Regions from separate parts of the Homo sapiens genome. Here regions 1, 2 and 3 are each linked to region 4. The links are contacts of gene promoters, found by promoter capture Hi-C in human tissues and cell types (Jung and others, 2019). All regions are on one chromosome and are shown on one strand. Each heading gives the region's core, a stretch centred on a gene start or on the middle of the fragment in contact. The rest is flanking DNA. Distances are from core to core; before and after follow the strand shown. Region 1 overlaps PLEKHA5 (pleckstrin homology domain containing A5). Region 2 has its middle 240 kb from the start of AEBP2. Region 3 overlaps PLEKHA5 (pleckstrin homology domain containing A5). Region 4 holds the start of CAPZA3 (capping actin protein of muscle Z-line subunit alpha 3).

Region 1 (3,499 bases), core at 357-2,856, 520 kb before region 4:
AGTCTGAGGAGAAATATACAGATATTAAATATAAACAAATATATCACATCAAGTCAAAACAGGACAGGAAGGATCTGCTTAATGTGATGTAGTGTTTTCTTTTTTATGGACAACTCTGAACTTAAACTAGACAGATGGGGTTTACTGGATTCTTCAAAATACACATAAGGATATACAGTCTTTAAAAATACTGCTATGGTTACCATGAAGATTTATTTTGGCAGGAATCATAATGGTGACCAACAAAGATGAAAACAATGAAGCTATAAAGTAACATAAAATTATCTCTTACTTTTCTACTTGTTCAGAATCTTTGGAAATCCAGCATACTTCTTTAGAATTTTGTTTTGGGAAGCTTTTATTAGTATATAAGAAAATTTTAAGGCCCAATATCAACAAAATTTTTCCTAAAGCATGTTTTCTTGATAGATTTTAATTTACTTTCAAACAGGTAATGCTTAAAAACAGTATAAAACTCAAACGACACAAAAAGATACACAAAGATCAATCTACTCACTCTTGGGCTCCAGCACCCAGCTAGCCCCACTCACAACTGTGTGGCAACCAATATCACTGTATGTGTGTGCCTATCTATCTAAAATAATTGTTCTCATGATTAATGAGTATTTTTCTGAAATGACTGCATATTTTAATATCCACTCTTCTGTTCCATTATTTCTTGGAGCTCACTATATAAACCGAATGCCTATTTACCCATACTGTTGTTAGTGTGCTGTGTTATGAAACTTTCTGATCTTTGGAAATCTGCAGGTGGAAATGGTGTCTTTTTCTGGTTTTAATTAGTATTTTTCATATTATGGATGAGGCTGAGAATCTTTTTTCATATATTTAAGAGTAAATTCCATTTTCTTTCCCGAAAACTGATTTCATATAATTTTTCCATTTCCAAACTGGCTCATAAGCCCTTTTCTTATTGATTCACAGCACTTCTTTAATTATAAGGAAATTATTCTTTAATTGTTATATGAATTACAGATACTCTGCATGGATAATAATTACGTGTGGTTGAATTTCTCATTATTTTATATTGTTACTTCTGAGTTTTATGTCATATTTAGAAAGCCCATCTGCATTCTGAGCTTTTCTTTTTTTTTTTTTTTCAAATCTTCCATTGTTTTTTTCTTAGTTTTGTTTTTAACATTTCAACAACTGATCCATCTAGAAAATTTCTGGTGTAAAGTATGAGGAACAGATTCAACTTTCTTTCAAGACAATGACCTAGTGGCTCTCAATCCATTCATCAATTTCTCCAGATTTTAATTAAAATATACTCATAAAGCATTATGCTCAGTTAGCCTGTTGGATTTATTTTACTTAATAATCAGAAATTATTTATATTACTTGAAAATTTACATTCATTTATAATCTCCTAACAAAATTTTATTTCAAAAACCTTAACTGGCATTTAAAATACTATTATTATAATTATCTTATAATTATCTATTTCCTTACAATAAACATAATATACTATTACAATGGTTTTGCTGAAAAATGTTTTCTCCATCTAAGCATTCTTATAGTCAGATAATTTGATTTCTAGGCTATTACATGAATAATCACCTTTAAAACTTAAGTGTACCCATTCTCTCTCACAAATATCAATGTATTTCTAAAATTATTCCAAATTTAAAAATTTAAGTCACTGAATTACAATCTTATTACTTTGTATTTCGGGCTGTTGCTTCTTATATCAATTACCTTCAAATTCATGTAATAATAAAAATGTAATTATTATTCTATACTTTTAAGTCCATTATGAGTAACGGTATAGATACTGTTTACTCCTTATCAATAATTAATATAAAGCAAAATAACTTACTCTGCCTACAGGGCTCATTGGATGCACTGCATAATCTGAAGTCACGTTATAGTTAGAAGCTTCATTTATCATACTTATTGGCCGTTCCTTCTTTTCTTCAGATGTCATGGTTGCAACAGTCCTGAAAATATATGTCAAAATGCTAGAACTTGCTGTGTATGTAACCCGCTTTATAATTACACTTCTCTACAGTTAACAATGCGAGTGTCCTACTTTTTCACAGTACTTGGATCCTAGTTACTCTAGAGTCAGGCCTTAATACTTACAACAACTTTAAATACAGCTAACGCTTTTCCTAAGCCAAAAATACATTATTATCATGTTTATTTATTATTAGTTTTTAAGACAAGAGTCTCACTCTGTTGCTCAGGCTACAGTGCAGTGGCGTAATCTTGGTTCACTGTAGAATCTGCCTCCCAGGTTCAAGTGATTTTCCTGCCTCAGACTCCTCAGTAGCTGGGACTACCAGCACGTTCCACCATGCCCGGCTAATTTTTCTATTTTTTTAGTACAGTCAGGGTTTCACCATGTTGGCCAGGCTGGTCTTGAATGCCTGACCTCAAGTGATTCGCCCACCTTGGCCTCCCAAAGTGCTAGGATTACAGGCGTGAGCCACTGTGCCCGGCCTATCATGTTTATTTATAATAGGCATTATTGCAGATATTCTACTTGGTCACCCAACTGAAAAATTAAAAATGAATTATGAGATTATTCTAATTTTAAAAACAATAACAATTTCAGTAACTAACTCTGTGAATAGCTTTATAGTATAATACATTCTTTGATGCTTATAAAACTCTTGTGAAATAGTAATTACCACTATCTGATTTAAGGATGAGAAAAGTGAGCTCAAATTAGTTTAATAATCTAACCATTTACACAGTTTCTCTAAGCTTGCATCCCGGGTTCTTGAGCTTACTGCGTTTGAAGTACTATAAAAACAGCTTCTGAAATTACATTCTTCATGAAAAAAATGTTTAACTCAGGTTTCTATATGACACATTGTGAACAGCTGGCATTCTGTTATTATACTTGACTACAAATGTCCAGATAAGAAAACTGCTAAATTGAAATATAAATAACAGCAATTTCAATGCTAACCCAATTTTGAATACAGGCATTCCATGAAACTCTTTACTTACTGTTCATTCACTACAAAAATACAATTGTCCTGTGATGGTTGTCCTGTGACTGGATGTTTGCAGGTCACTTTCCTTTCATTATGGCTGAAAAAAGGAAAAAAGAAAAACAGAACATGCAGGTATTTAAAATTCCCATTTATTTATTGTAACATTAGTCTACAAAGGAAATGAAATTCAAACTTCCAGCCTTTTTTTTTGTTTTTGAGACGGAGTTTTATTCTTGTCGCCCAGGTTGGAGTGCAATGGCGCATTCTCGGCTTACTACAACCTCTGCCTTCTGGGTTCAAGCAATTCTTCTGCCTCAGCCTCCCAAGTAGCTTGGATTATAGGCGCCCACCATCACGCGCCCAGTTAATTTTTTGTATTTTTAGTAGAGACAGGATTTCACCATGTTGGTCAGGTTGGTCTTGAACTCCTGACCTCAGGTGATCCACCCGCCTCGGCCTCACAAAGTGCTGGGATTACAGGCATGAGACACGGCACCTGGCCGCCAGCCTTTTGAGATTCCTAAATATAT
Region 2 (3,328 bases), core at 519-3,018, 940 kb before region 4:
TATATGAAGCCAGCATTACCCTAATACCAAAACCAGGAAAGGACATAACCAAAAAAGAAAACTACAGACTGATGTCCCTGATGAACATAGATGCTAAAATCCTTCACAAAATACTAGCTAACTAATCCAATAACATGTCGAAAAGATAATGCACCATGATCAAGTGGGTTTCATACCACGGATGCAGGGATGGTTTAACATACACAAGTCAATAAATGTGATACACCACATAAACAGAATTAAAAACAAAAATCACACGATCATCTTAAAGATGCAAAAAAAGCATTTGACAAAATCCAGCATTCCTTTATGATTAAAACTCGCAGCAAAATTGGCATACAAGGGACATACCTCAATGTAATAAAAGCCATCTATGACAAACCCACAGCCACATAATACTGAATGGGGAAAAGTTGAAAGCATTCCCTCAGAGAACCGGAACAAGACAAGGATGCCCACTCTCACCACTCCTCTTCAACATAGTACTAGAAGTCCTAGCCAGAGCAATCAGACAAGAGAAAGAAATAAAGGGCATCCAAACTGGTAAAGAGGAAGTCAAATTGTCACTGTTTGCTGGTGATATGATCGTTTACCTTGAAAGCCCTAAGGACTCCTCTGGAAAGTTCCTAGAACAAATCAAAGAATTCAGCAAAGTTTCCAGATGCAAGATTAATGTACACAAATCAATAGCTCTTCTATACACCAACAGCGACCAAGTGGAGAGTCAAATCAAGAACTCAACTCCTTTTACAATAGCTGCAAAAAATAAAATAAAATACTTAGGAATATACCTAACCAAGGAGGCAAAAGACCACTATGAGGAAAACTACAAAACACTGCTGAAAGAAATCATAGATGACACAAACAAATGGAAACACATCCCATGCTCATGAATGGGTAGAATCAATATTGTGAAAATGACCATACTGCCAAAAGCAATCCACAAATTCAACACAATCCCCATCAAAATACCACCATTATACTTCACAGAATTAGAAACAACAATTCTAAAAGTCATATGAAACCAAAAAAGAGCCTGCATAGCCAAAGCAAGACTAAGCAAAAAGAACAAATCTGAAGGCATCACACTACCTGATTTCACACTATGCTATAAGGCTATAGTCACCAAAACAGTGTGGTACTAATATTAAAATAGGCACATAGACCAATGGAACAGAATAGAGAACCCAAAAATAAACCCAAATACTTACAGCCAACTGATCTTCGACAAAACAAACAAAAACATAAAGTGGGGAAAGGACACCCTTTTCAACAAATGGCTAGCCACATGTAGAAGAATGATGGAATACTACTCAGCCATAAAAAGGAAAGAATTCACAGCATTTGCAGTGACCTGGTTGAGACTGGAGACTATTATTCTAAGTGAAGTAATTCAGGAATGGAAAATCAAACACCGTATGTTCTCACTGATATGTGGGAGCTAAGCTATGAGGACGCAAAGGCATAGAATGATACAATGGACTTTGGGGACTTGAAGGGAACGGTGGGAGCAGGGCGAGGGATAAAAGACTACAAATAGGATACGGTGTACACTGCTCGGGTGATGGGTGCACCAAAATCTCACAAAGCTCCACTAAAGAACTTATTCATGTAACCGAATACAACCTGTACCCCAATAACCTATGGAAAAATAAATATAAAAATAAAGAAGATTACCCTACAATCCCTCCTCTTCTGCTTCTGTTGTAAAAACAGAAGATTGGGAAAAGACACAACTGACATACTCCAAGTTTTTCTGCATTCCAGAATTGGCTGGGTAACCGTACTGCTATATGGAACTTGATAGCGCATTCATGAGAATTTTACTAAATACAAGTCACTTTATCACAAAAATGAATAAATAAATAATTTATTCTGGAATAAATCATCAAGTACTTAGAAATAAATCTAATGAGTGAAGTGTAACATCTCTACTCCAAAAAAATACAAAATGTTGGCTGGGCATGGTGGCTCATGCCTATAATCCCAGCACTTTGGGAGGCCAAGGTGAACAGATTGCTAGAGACCAGGAGTTTGAGAACAGCCTGGGCAACATAGCGAAACCCCATCTCTCCAAAACAAACAAACAAACAAACAAAAATTAGCCATGCCTACTGGCACACGTTTGTAGTCCTAGCTACTTGGAAGGCTGAGGTAGGAGAATTGATTGAGCCCAGGAGGTTAAGATTGCAGTGAGAGATGATTGTGCCACTGTACTCCAACCTGGGTGACAGTGCAAGACCCTGTCCCCAAAAATAAAATAAATAAAATAAAAAATAACTAAAATTATTGGGAGAGAGATATTATATTCATAAATTAGAAGACTCAATATTGTAAAATTATCATTTTCTCCCAAATTGATCTATAAATTCAGTGCAATCCCAGTCCAAATCCCAGCTAAATTTTGTTTAATAAATTTAACAAGCTGGTTCAAATATTTGTATAGTAATACAAAGAACAGTTAGTCTTTCACTTTCAGGTATCAAGACTTATTACATTGCTGCAGTAATTAAGAGAATTAGTGAAAGGATAGATATTAGTCAATGGAAAAGAAAAGAGTCCACTTGATGTATGATTAAAGTAACACACGATTAGTTAGGAAAAGGATATTCTTTTTAGTCAGTGTTGCTGGGTCAACTGGATATGAATCAGTTGGGTAACCACAGGGGAAAATGTGAATCTTGAGCTTCTGCCTCACCTCATATGCAAATACCAGTTCCAGATATACTGTAGATCTATCTATATGTGAAAGCTAAAAAACTGAGCTTCTTGGCGCACAGAAAGTCAAATATCACATGTTCTCATTCATCTGTGGGAGCTAAAAAAGTGGATCCCATGGCAGTAGAGGATAGAATGCTGGTTACCAGGGGCTGGGAAGGGAAGGGAGAAGGGGGCATAAAAAGAAGTTAGTTAATAGGTACAAAAGTGCAGTTAAATAGTAGGAATAAGTTCTAACATTCAATAGTACAGTAGGGAAATTACAATTAAGAATAATTTATTGTACATATCAAAATAGCTAGAAGATAATTATAATATTCCCGACACAAAGAAAAGATAAATGTTTGAGGTGATGGATATCCCAGTTACCCTGATTGTTACACATTGTATACATGTATCAAAATATCACAGGTACCCCAAAAATATGTATAACTATTTTTGTTGCGACAAGGTCTTGCTCTGTTGCCCAGGCTGTGGTGCAGTGCTGAGATCTCGGTTCACTGCAGCCTCGACCTCCCAGGCTCCAGTGATCCTCCCACCTCAGCCTCCCAAGTAGCTAGGACTACAGACACATGCTACCATACTCGGCTAATTTTTGTATTTTTTGTAG
Region 3 (3,220 bases), core at 138-2,637, 550 kb before region 4:
AGTAGCACATTACTGTTTTGTTTCAAACAGGCAAATATAAATATGAAAGCATTTGTCTTATTTTCTACAGTAACCTCTTTATTTGATAAAATAGTCAAGTTTGGACATTTTGAAACAAGCTAGAATAAGTTTTAGCTTGATTTATATAAAAAAATGTATTCAATGAAAGAAATTATGTCTAATAACAAAAAATTCCCAACAAATTAAAATTAAATATTAATAGAACATTTTATAAAAACTGAGTCACTCCTTGTTAAATGCCACTTTCTTTTTTTTTGAGATAGAGTCTCGCTCTGTTACCCAAGCTGGAGTGCAGTGGTGTGATCTTGGTTCACTGCAACCTCTGCCTCCAGGGCTCAAGTGATTCTCCTGCCTCAGCCTCCCAAGTAGCAGGGATTACAGGTGCACACCACCATGCTCGGCTAGTTTTTGTATTTTTAGTAGAGACGGTGTTTCGCCACGTTGGCTGGGCTGGTCTCAAATTCCTGACCTTAGGTGATCCACCTGCCTCAGCCTCCCAAAGTGCTGGGATTACAGGCGGGAGCCACCACACCCGGCCCATTGCCATTTTCACTTTTGAACATTCACCTCAACCAGGCACACCTGGTGCCACCACTGAGGTAATGCTAGGAATGTGAGCCTCCTATAAAACTGGCTCTACACACGTTGGCAAAGACCAAACATTGGAAGTACACAGCAAACAGGGAATAAGGACAGGCAACTGCAAATCACCTCCACTACACACTTCACCCATCTTCCTTCCTCCCTTACTCCCTCCCTCTCTCTCTTTCTCTGTTTCTTTATTTTTAAGACAGAGTCTTGCGCTGTAGCCCAGGCTGGAGTGCAGTGGTGCATGATCTCGGCTCACTGCAACCTCCACCTCCCGGGTTCAAGCAATTCTCATGCCTCAGCCTCCCAAGCTGCTGGGATTACAGACGTTCACTGTGACGCCCGGCTCATTTTTGTATTTTTAGTAGAGGCAGGGTTTCTCCATGTTGGCCAGCCTCGTCTCGAACTCCTGGCCTCCAGTGAGCCGCCTGCCTCAGCCTCCCAAAGTGCTGGGATTACAGGCATGAGCCATTGCATCCAGCCAACTTCACCCACCTTTAAACTCCCCTTTAGGAATACAGAGCACACTACATTCACCCTCCTTCTTGCCTTCCAACAAGACAATTCACAGCTTGGTGTCTGTTCCTTTAATTAGGTCAGCTCCAAGCTGAGATAAGCCTCAAGGAGTAGGTGTTTTAATGGGATAAGAAGAACGAAGTCTAGAGAATTTAGGCCCTCAATTTCAGGTGACCCAGCATTTGTATCCCTCTTTACCTCCACACCTGTCCTTTCTCCCTGTTTATTATGGAATTCCTGAATCCACCTGGTCAGAGATTTCATATTCTATCACTTGTAAAAGTCATGTTATTAATTCAACGTGACTGAAATAGCTGAGAAGCCTGAAAAACTGTATTATATTTAAGAAGTTCTATTAAGTATTAAAAGTAAGAAAATCTCTATGAATCCCACCTGATGATCCAAATATATGGTGTTCCTTTGGAGATGATGTGAAAGAATTTCATTCTAGTAGGCACCAATTAAGAAAAAAGGGACAGAGAAAGAGGATGTGGAATTCAAGAAAAGGTCAATTTTGGAATAAGAAAAACAGGTAATTTACTACAACCTATTATATCACAGTACACGACAACTTTCACGCACATGCTCCCCTGTAAATGGTACCGCTGACATATTAAATTACAAAATTATATTTTGTTTTGTAAGAAATTACGTAGACATGCATATGAACAATGAACTATTAAGCAGAAAAATTCCTTAAAATAGCTTTAGCAAACTGACTGTTAGAACTTTTACATGTCAATTATTTCCTCTAATATAGTACTACTTCTTTAAATAAGATCTTTCTTATATAACCAGAGCTATAAACCCTTTGAGAAACGGTTATGTGTTCGTTCTTTTCATTAAAAATAAGACATTTTAAAATTAATTTTTAACATTTAAAAGGCAGTATTATTAAAGCTATAATGAATTTTTAATTTATTGTTTTATTGGAAATTATAGGACTTCTCAATATTTGTTTTACCAGATATGGAAGTCACAGTATTCAGTGAGTAACAACATGAAGTTAATGCGTACATGAAGTATTGTACGCATTGCCTTCCTCAAAACCAAAAGCCAGTGGGTGAGCGGGTGGGGTAGAAGGCTAAGAAGAAATGCACCCTACCTGTATTTTCTTTCAGTAATGTATAAATAAGTTGAATTCTCAAAGGGTTAATAGGAGATTCTAATGTTGTCACTATAATGATGGTATGGGCTCATGCTCAACACTAATGATGCTGATCATATTGACTGATGAGTGTTTCAAAATAAGAGATGATGGCAGACGACACAGACAAATCTCTCCATAGCTGACCTTTGGGCTGTGGGCCTCAAGCTTTAGCTGCATGAGCTGTGCTAACGTATGCTCCCGGATACTACTCAGTTCGGCTTGCTGCCGTCTCAGCTTTATTAGCAGCAGCGTAAGCTCCTCTGGCTGAAGGAGTACAATTTAAGAATCCAAACAGTGGAAAACAGATTAATTGTTGTCTTAAGTGACAGATATTAAACCAAGATTTCTTGGCAAGTTTCCTCTTATGGTTGACATCAAACATAGTGCCTAGGCACTATGATGATAGGTCCTACATAAATGCATAGATATCTAGAGAAATAGAAGGAACAGTGTTACTTTAAAAGATACAGCAAAACAACAGTAAATTAAGGCATTTTCTCAGAACTCATGAGAACATTTAAATGTTAAGTACAAAAAAGCACAATGCCAAAAAAACATTATAAAGGTTTGTACATAAGTGCTACTAAAAAATTATTAAAAGATATTTTACTAAGATATCTAAAAAAATTACACCTTTTCCCAGCAATAGTACAAATACCTGCATGTCCAACTTTCTAACAGAACTACATAAAATAATTAAAATAAATGTAGTCCGGGCACAGTGGCTCACGCCTGTAATCCCAGCACTTTGGGAGGCTGAGGGAGGCGGATCACAAGGTCAGAAGTTCGAGACCAGCCTGAGCCCTGCCTCTACTAAAGATTAAAGAAAAATTAGCCAGGCATGGTGGCACGCAACTGTAATCCCAGCTACTCGGGAGGCTGAGGCAGGAGAATCGCTTGAATCCAGGAGGTGGAGTTTGCAGTGAGCCGAGATCACGCCATTGC
Region 4 (3,210 bases), core at 62-2,561:
TCCCAGATTCTATAAAACTATTTTAGTTTCTAACAAATGTCTTGGTCTTTATGATGGTCACCACCATGAAACACAGTTACTTTACACTTTCTTGCCTTGTTCATAAATATTCCCCAAGTAAAATTACTTGCTACACTTTTCCCATTTAAATTTGCATTGGCTAAGTGAGAGACATCTCTACAGATTGCTCAATTTTAGGAAAATAACCATTCCCAAGAAACACAAACAAGTCAAATCAAGATAGTTACCAGGAGCAATTCTTTATATTATCCAGTTGCACAACACACTTCTTGAATAAATGACATATCCTAATTTAGGATACATCACCAGATTCAAGTCAGAGAGTATCCTGTGCCAGTCAATAAGAGTGCGGGTCACTGGAAGATCCCTTCGTAGAATTTTTCTCAGGGCTTCATTGGATAACTCCTGTAATTCTTCCAAGACTGCAGCTTGAAATTTGTTCTCTTGCTCTTCCACAAGCCTTGCAAAACTTAGAGCCAGTTGAGCTTGGTTAACTATTTCCAAGCTTTCTTTCAGGTCCTTGGATATTTCAATATGAAGGTTGACACACCTGAAGAAGTGAGCTTGCACAAATATTCTTCCCGTTACTTGGGTTAGAAATGGGTTAACTTGGAAAATCCATTTAGATTTCCAAAGTCCGTTCCAGCACTCTCCTGTTTCATAGTTGTGATCTTCAATGCAAGCTATCAAGTACTCCTTACTTTTGACAGTTTTTCTCAGCATGTTGCAATTTCCTTTTGGATAGTGGTCATTCACATACAGTTTTAAGGCGCACAGAAGAACAACTCTCAGGTATTCTGCCTCATTCTGAATGATACCATGACTTTGGATGTCTTTCAGCTGATTTTGAAGCAGGTCATATTTGAAAGAAAGTTTGCTTTGATGGTCAAAAAATCGGTAGTCGCCCATTACATTGTGGTGAGACAAGAGTACTGGATTTCCATCGATGCAGAGTGGTACAGAATATTTTTGGCAGTGTTGGTGGCCTGCACACTCACCTTGGTGGTGCATAAGTTTTTCATCACGGATAAGCAGACAGAGATCATCAAAGGCATTTACAAATTCCCCTGGAGGGGCCTGTAATAACAGTCTGCGAATTACTCTTTCCTTGTCCTTCCTGCTCAGCACGCTAAGTGTCATGTTTGGTTGCAACAGAAGCAAAGCTTCTGAAATGAGGAGTGTTCAAAGGATAAGAAAACATTCCATGAGCCACCTTTCCCATCAAGGTGTTAACATTCAAGCTGAAGGTTTTTATGTCTATCCATGAAAGCAGGCAGTCTGGCAAGGTCTGAGCCTCCTGATGAGGTCATAAGAAGCTTTCCTTGTGAAGTGTGGAACCTCTGATGATATCACAATGGGAATTCAGACCAAAAGGAAAAAATGACAGTCACCTGACAGTGTGGTGCCCAGCCAACCAGCTATACCTCTTTTGAAGATTTTAAGAACTTAGCCTCCTGAACAGTCTTCTTCGAAAGTGGTGTGTCTCTGTGTGCATTATATGTTGTCAACGATCTAGAGAAGCAGCCCAAAGTTTCAAGAGTGACAGCACTTTGCAACTTCAGGAATCACAATGGTGTTGATTTATACTCAGGCTCTCAGAGTAGCTGCCCAAACCCACTGGAAGCATATTATGATGAAAGGTTTGAGGGGTTTAAACAAAGTAGTAAAAAATAAAAGGAGATACAATGGCAGTTCATGGAAAAATGCCAGACATCAGGGAAAGCTGTGTTTTCAAATATTGTGGGTTTGGAGGTGGTCAGAACGTAAGAAGCCAAACAGTTTCAAGGGCAGGGTAGTGCAGGTACCACATCTTGCATACTGTTTCTATGGTTAAGTGTGAGCTAGCTTCAAAGAACGAAGGCAAAAAAAACCACTGTGTGTTCTCTGCTTTCTCCCTAGAAAAGTGGTAACAGCTGATGAGTATCAAGAAATTATTTTCTGCAAAGGGGCAGAGTTAATTGTATTTGGAACCCATGACAGCACCTACTGGGGAAAGACTTCTAAGTGAGGAGAAACGGCTCTACAGGTCATGAAACTATGGAAATGAGATATCCATTGAGAGCTTCTTTCTGCTCCTCTTCTTCTTTCTCCTACTTATCCTCTTTACTTGATGCTGTTATTCTTTTCGAGGAGTTCTGAATTTAAGTCCTCTTCATTTAAGTTGAACTGCTTTTCCCTGTTTGTTCTGAGCTTTTCTAACTTTCCCTGCATTCTGGTATCTTTTTCTTACAAGAACATGAGCTTTGCTGGATTAAGTCATAACTATTAAATTTAAGGAGATCTCATTAATTCGTTCTAACAATCTGAAACTTAGTAGTTTTGCACAATTTTTACCTATACCTTTTATAATTTTAGTGATAATTGTCATTATCTCATTTCGATCTTAGTTTTTCAAATGGAAGTGTCCTAGTTTTTGTAGTTTATCTATGATAAGTAAGCTTTTAAAAATTTTTTTCGTTTTTCATACCAAATATACACTCACCATGGTATTTCTGATGCTTTTTGATGGTACTGTCTTGAGTGTGTGTGTAGCTGGGCATTGGACTAATGTAGTAATAATAACTTTATCAGTCATGGTTACTATTTATTGAACACTAAGTAGCAGAAACTGTGTTCGGTGGCATATTAGGAATTCATCTAATGCTTCCACTTTCCTTAAGATTCAGGGTTAATTTGCTCACCTTTCTGGAAGAGAGAACTAAAACAGAGAGGTCAGGTGAGAGGCGATCTTGAAGTCTAGCTGCCTTCCAACTTCATGCCTTCAGGCAATAGATTGTTATAATGTTTTAATGTATGTTCTAAGTAATGACTTCAATTCTCAAATTTTAACTTTAATTCTTTTTTTTGTATTTTTACTGTGCTATGCCCTTTCATACCTTTACCATAGCATAGTAACTACTTAATTTTGTTTTTTAAAAAATATTTATCATACAATTATACTATAATTTACTTTAAACATATTCTTTAAAAATAAAAATAATACAGTAAATCAAATGTTTCTTTAGGAATTTTAAATATTCAATGACTTTCTGTGAGAATTTCCTTAACTTTTTTGTGCTTCTACATGGTTTTTGTCAAAGATTCAGGATGACTTCAGAGGTGGAAAAATTAACCTAGAAAAAACTCAGAGGTTACTTGAAAAATTAGATATTCGGTGCAGTTATATTCATGTGAAACAGATTTTTAAGG

What was found. Contacts are between HindIII fragments. The study calls those that stand out against the background at their distance.
Region 1: a contact is called between a fragment that was not itself captured here and the fragment with the promoter of CAPZA3 in region 4, in 3 of the 25 tissues and cell types used here (dorsolateral prefrontal cortex, mesendoderm cells and thymus).
Region 2: a contact is called between a fragment that was not itself captured here and the fragment with the promoter of CAPZA3 in region 4, in 1 of the 25 tissues and cell types used here (dorsolateral prefrontal cortex).
Region 3: a fragment that was not itself captured here is called in contact with the fragment with the promoter of CAPZA3 in region 4 in 2 of the 25 tissues and cell types used here (heart right ventricle and thymus).

What each region holds. Positions count from the first base shown.
Region 1 is chr12:19,253,507-19,257,005 of GRCh38, reverse strand. It overlaps PLEKHA5 (pleckstrin homology domain containing A5), which reads right to left. Exons shown (of 32, transcript NM_001256470.2): 4 at 2,983-3,066; 5 at 1,841-1,961. Among named protein-coding and RNA genes, the nearest start is that of PLEKHA5, 130 kb to the right of the region's middle. The HindIII fragment of the contact is 4,359 bases long and covers 1-3,499 here.
Region 2 is chr12:19,674,839-19,678,166 of GRCh38, reverse strand. No RefSeq gene overlaps it. Among named protein-coding and RNA genes, the nearest start is that of AEBP2, 240 kb to the right of the region's middle. The HindIII fragment of the contact is 9,322 bases long and covers 1-3,328 here.
Region 3 is chr12:19,289,996-19,293,215 of GRCh38, reverse strand. It overlaps PLEKHA5 (pleckstrin homology domain containing A5), which reads right to left. Exons shown (of 32, transcript NM_001256470.2): 14 at 2,420-2,539; 15 at 1,519-1,572. Among named protein-coding and RNA genes, the nearest start is that of AEBP2, 150 kb to the left of the region's middle. The HindIII fragment of the contact is 4,219 bases long and covers 1-3,220 here.
Region 4 is chr12:18,736,220-18,739,429 of GRCh38, reverse strand. It overlaps CAPZA3 (capping actin protein of muscle Z-line subunit alpha 3), which reads right to left and starts at 1,311. Exons shown (of 1, transcript NM_033328.3): 1 at 242-1,311. The coding sequence starts at 1,161. The coding sequence ends at 262. It overlaps PLCZ1 (phospholipase C zeta 1), which reads left to right and starts at 1,418. Exons shown (of 15, transcript NM_033123.4): 1 at 1,418-1,498; 2 at 1,921-2,069; 3 at 3,086-3,209. The coding sequence starts at 2,059. The HindIII fragment of the contact is 1,043 bases long and covers 856-1,898 here.